Regions from separate parts of the Homo sapiens genome. Here region 1 is linked to region 2. The links are contacts of gene promoters, found by promoter capture Hi-C in human tissues and cell types (Jung and others, 2019). All regions are on one chromosome and are shown on one strand. The core of a region is centred on a gene start or on the middle of the fragment in contact, and the rest is flanking DNA. Distances in the headings are between cores, read along the strand shown.

What was found. The method cuts DNA at HindIII sites, captures the fragments that hold promoters and counts their contacts. A contact is called where the count stands out against the background at its distance.
Region 1: a contact is called between a fragment that was not itself captured here and the fragment with the promoter of ZNF507 in region 2, in 1 of the 25 tissues and cell types used here (dorsolateral prefrontal cortex).

What each region holds. Positions count from the first base shown.
Region 1 is chr19:30,696,837-30,699,685 of GRCh38, forward strand. It overlaps a transcript of ZNF536 not described here. Among named protein-coding and RNA genes, the nearest start is that of ZNF536-AS1, 28 kb to the left of the region's middle. The HindIII fragment of the contact is 6,760 bases long and covers 1-2,849 here.
Region 2 is chr19:32,344,219-32,346,948 of GRCh38, forward strand. It overlaps ZNF507 (zinc finger protein 507), which reads left to right and starts at 1,392. Exons shown (of 7, transcript NM_001136156.2): 1 at 1,392-1,565. RefSeq lists silencers at 1,216-1,345, 1,376-1,565. The HindIII fragment of the contact is 20,549 bases long and covers 1-2,730 here.

The DNA of each region.
Region 1 (2,849 bases), core at 12-2,511, 1.6 Mb before region 2:
TAAGCTCTTATCCTAACTCAACTTGGGCCTCAAGCTGCAGGGAGACAGCAAGACACAGTGCAGGTTGAGCTCCAGCTGCAGGACCATGTTCTGCCTCTCTCTGGCTTTGTGGCTCTGGACAGATGCTGTGCTAGTCCATTCTCACACTGCTACAAAGATATGATCAGAGACAGGGTAATTTATAAACAAAAGAGGTCTAATTGACTCATAGTTCTGCATGGCTGAGGAGGCCTCAGGAAACTTACAGTCATGGCGTAAGGTAAAGGGGAAGCCAGGCATGGGGGCAGGTGAGAGAGAGAGCAAGTGGGAACTGCCAAACACTTTTAAAACCATCAGCACTCATGAGAACTCCCTCACTATCAAGAGAACAGCATGGGGGAAATGGTCCCCATGATCCAATCACCTCCCACCAGGTCCCTGCCTCAACACCTAGGGATCGCAATTCAAGTTGAGATTTGGATGGGGACACAGAGCCAAACCATATCATCCAACAAATGGGAGCCCAACCCCTGATTTCAGCATTGGCAGAGGAATCAAAATGCACATCTCCCATTTGAAGTTCAAGGTTACCATGCAATGGGCACGTAGTAGGTGGAGTATTTTAATACTTACAGCCTTTTCTAGCAGACATTCATTTAACTCTATGTGCTGCACTTTGTGCTTAAGCATCAGGCCTCATCTCATTGAATCCTCACAGCAATCCTATTAGGGAGCTATTATTATTATTGCACCCATTTTACCGATGAGAAAACTGAGACTTAGAAAGGTTAACTAGCTGGTTCAAGAGCACACACAACCGATAAGAGGCAGATACGTTAGAGCCTTGGTGTCTGGCTTGAAAATCTACAGTCTTCATCACTGTGCTTGAATAATGAAAAATGCTGCATGCTAGCAGGGCAGTGGCGATTTCTCAAAATCTGCTCTGCTGCCTTCCCTGATCCTTGGGTTGCAGGCCCAGCAGACTGTGTGTGTGCCATATGCCCTCCAGAAGTTTTCGTGTCAACAGAAGTTAAGTATTACCTGTTTGGTTCTGTGACTTTGGAAGCATCTCTTGATGTGGGGTGTTGGTTTCTTCCTGTTCACAGAAAATCAATCAAATCCACTTTTAAATAAACTTTCAAAATAAACTTTTAATTTTAGTATGGATTTAGATTTATAAAAATGTTTCATAGACGTGGGATGTGGTGCTTCACGCCTGTAATCCCAGCACTGTGGGAGGCCATGGCAGGCGGATCACCTGAGGTCAACTGTTCAAGACCAGCCTGGCCAACATGGTGAAACCCAGTCTCTACTAAAAATACAAAAATTAGCTGGACCCATTGGTGCACGCCTGTAGTCCCAGCTACGCAGGATGCTGAGTCTGGAGAATCACTTGAACCTGGGAGGTGGACGCTGCAGTGAACTGAGACTGCGCCACTGTACTCCAGCCTGGGTGACAGAGCAAGACTCAGTCTCAAAAAAAAAAAAAAAGTTTGCATAGATAATACAGAGAACTCTCATAGATTTCACCGCCATTTCCCACTATTATTAACATCTTACATTGGTAGGGTATGTTTGTCACAATTCACGAAGCAATATTGACACATTATTTTTAAATAAAGTCCATCTTGTATTCTTAGTGTTTTAGTTTTTATCCGATGTCCTGTTCTGCTCCAGGATACCATATTACCTTAGGTGTCCTGTCTCCTTCCACCTTCCTGGCTGCAACAGTTTCTCACTTTTCTTGTTTCTGATGACCTTGACAGTTTCCAGGAGTATTTTGCAGAACGTCCCTCAGTTGCAATTTCTCATGTGTAGACTGGGGTTATGGATTTAGGGAAGGAAGACCACAAAGGTAAATTACCATTCTCATCATATCAAGTCAAGGGCACCTGCTGTCAGCCTGACCTTGGTCTGCTGGCTGAGGTCATGTTTGTCTGGTTTCTCCACGGAAGTTACTCTCCCGTCCCTTTCCATACTGTACTCTTTGGAAGGAAGTCACTTGGCACAGTCCACTCTTAAGGAGTAGGGAGATATGCTCCGTCTCCTTGAGCAAGAAATAGCTACAAAATTATTTGGAATGCACAAGGCATTTGTCAATCCTTCCCCCTGTATTTATTGATGCAATCATTTATGCCAGTATGATTTGTGGATATTTATTTTAGACTCTGGGTCATAATCTGATATTATGTTGTTTACTTTGTTACTCAAATGGTTCTACCTTTGGGTATGGGGGCTTCTTCAGCAAGCTCTGTGCTAATCTGACACCCCCACTCCACCATCAATATGTGGGGGTTTTTTTTTAGTACTTTCTTACTTTCTAGCACTAAATACCCCGGGATTATTTTGGTGTATTTCCTATCCCAGTCCTAGAATCAGCCATTTCTCCAAGGAGCCCTGGTTCCCTTTTTTTGGGAGTGGTATTAGAAACCAATGTCACCACTTCTAGACCCTCTCAGCTGACAGAATAAGGAAATATATGCTTGTGTACTAACTCCTGTATATACACACATCTATATTATAAATATGAAGTTAAGCTTGAGTTCACACAGATGTCTTCAATCCATTACCACACAGATCAAAATGCACTTGTAAAATAAGTACATTTTTTTTTGGGTAGCCTTCTAAATTAAAACCCAAATCACAGGAAATTTGAAACCTAAATTTATTTGTACTAAGGATATTCCAAAGTGTTTTAGCATCTTTGATGAGATGGATGAATATTTTTTTAAAACTGAAAACATAAATTACGTACCTGATTGGAATCATTCTCGCCTATTTGGAATTAGGAAATTTTTTTAAACTATATGTGCAACTGAGAAAACGGCTCTCTCTGTGGGCCTAGTGATTCTTTATGTATATTTTTACCT
Region 2 (2,730 bases), core at 142-2,641:
ATCGAAAAAAAAATTACTCAACATTTTATTTTTTCACAGCTATTTGGTCTAATTGGCAAAGGATTCTGTGGAATAGCAGAATTCTAACTTTGCAGCCGGGCGCGGTGGCTCACGCCGGTAACCCCAGCACTTTGGGAGGCTGAGGCGGGCGGATCATGATGTCAAGAGATCGAGACCATCCTGGCCAACATGGTGAAACCCCGTCTCTACTAAAAATACAAAAAAATTAGCTGGGCATGGTGGCACGCCCTGTAGTGCCAGCTACTCGGGAGGCTGAGGCAGGAGAATCACTTGAACCTGGGAGGTGGAGGTTGCAGTGAGCCGAGATTGCGCCCCTGCACTCCAGCCTGGGGAGAGAGTGAGACTCTGACTCAAAAAAATAAAATAAAAATAAAAATAAAAATTCTAACTTTGCTGGTTTCCTAACCCCCAAATTCAGATGAATTTGAATTCTGAAATACAGTAACAGGAATTATCAGCCTGTCTGATTCTAAATTTTGTTGGATCTTCCTCCCAGGACCGTGGACAGCCCAGCCAGCTGTAAAGGCCTCTAAAAAGATCTGGAACAGATCCCCAAGAGGTATCTCACCAAATGAGTCCATTCCACTACAATGGCCAGAATCTTCAGTTTTACACCCTTGCTCATGCCCACCGCTCACCCGGAGTCCAGACCCAAGCACCATGCTGCGTAGTTCCTAATACGGCAAAACTATCCAGCATTTTTGGTGAAATTGGCTGGAATGCTTCACTTAGTCCGTTTTTCACTGTTAGCAGGAGAACCACCCTAGTATCTTTCATAGAACAGATCCGAATGACAAACACCATCGTGCCCTCGGAGGGCTGAGCTTGTGTTACTGGGTCTGGTCCTACAAACCCTGAAAATCCTGAATCTCTCAAGCAAAGAGATTCCCCAGGGCCAGCTCTGGCCCTTAACAGGCACCCCTTAACGCCAAGCTGCGAATCTGGCTAGGACCTCTATATTTTAGCCAAGAACACCTTGAAATGTACAGTCCTACCAAAGGAACTAATACAAATCCAGAAGCACAAGGCTAAAGAAAAAAAAAAAAAAAACCCCAATGCCCATTGTTGAAAGCCAATTGCGGGGTGAGTGGGGTGATAAGGCTAGCCCACAGCGGATTTAGGCGACGTGGGGAGATGCCAAAGTGAATACACGGTGACTTCTAAATCTAGACGTCTGGAAGGGGCCATGAGAGCCAGACAACTGGGCCCGAACCCCGCCCGGGAGCCAGGGTTTGCAAGGGGCTAAACCGGCTGGGGAGCCTCCCTCTCGCGGGTCCAGCCTCGGCGGCCCGGGACGCCGGTAGGCGGGGCCTGAGCCTCGCCCCGCCCCCGCTGCCCGCCATTCGGGTCACCTGACCCACCCGCGGCTCACGTGATCCGTCCCCAGCGCCGCCATTTTGGAGCTCCGGATGAGGAGGGGGAAACCGGGGGAAAAGAGGGAAAAGAGCCGGGAGAGAGGTGGGCAAGGACGAGGGCGAGGGCACGGCCGGGTCCTGGCTGGCCAAACGAGGCTCGCGGAAGCAGCAGCCGCCGCCTGACCGCAGGTACCGCGCCCCGGGGCCGCCCCTCCGCCCGCTGTTAGCGCCGCCGCCGGCCATGTGCATCCTCCCCTCAGGCCTCTGCCGGCGCTCGCTTCCTCCTCAGCCGGCCGACCCCCGCCCGGTGCTAGCCACAAGCCCCAAGTTCCGTGTCCCGGTTCTGTCTTCTGTGCAGCAAGGCCTGCGGAGACTCTGGGCTTGCCCTGCAGCTGGGGGTGGGGGGAACTTGCTGCTCCCTGCATACTGTCACCAGCCCGGCCCGCCCGCAGGCGTTGCTTCCTTCTCCAGGCGTTGCTTCTTTCTGCAAATGTGAGATCGCTTAGGCCAGCCGGGATGGACCCAGCCACGATGTTCTCACAGCATCTTTTGATTAATTTTCTAAGCTCCCTCATTCCCGACCCATCACCTCAGTCCTTTAGCCAGTGCGTGGTGTAGAAAAAGCTACTACAGAAACGCAGCCCTGGTCTTCTGCATTTATTACCATCCTCTGGAGATAGAATGATGTCTCCAGAGATCACGGAGACCATCAGGGAAAGTTCCCACCTCTTAAGACCTGGGGGCATCGGAATGAATGGTTTGTGTAGAAGGCCGGGATGATTAATAAGGTGGCGGCCACTTTCCCAACCCCAAGGCGGTATTTTTAAGTTTCTGCAGTGGGCTGTAATTTGCTATCAGTCTGCATCGCTCTTCTCAGGCAATTACTGGATTTATCACCTCTTTGAGTTTGCACTTTCTCCAGTACTCCCCTCTCACTCAGAGTATGGGTTGCATTATTGATTAAAAGAAAGCCTGGCCCTTCATTCCTTTACCTCACTAACTCGTTGAAAATTAACTTCAGGGGAGCCCTAAAGATGTTTTTTCTGCCCTGGCAGTGAGCTATTTTACTTAACCGTAATCGATAAGGTAGTTGCATTCTAGGTGAAACGAATAAGCATTTTTTTATCTTTTAGATTTATTCCAGCCAGTATAAGAAACAGTGGCAAAGAAATGTAGGACCAGAGTAGGAAACTGCGTTAGAAGATATATAGGTCACACCACTGTGTCATATCTTTTTATGCTGTTTTTCTGCCTATTGTGCTTGGTTGCAGAATCACTCGTTAGATTGTATTTTTAGTTTAGATTAAAATAGCAATGTGCAATTTATTGTTCCATTCTCATTAGAAAATGTTGT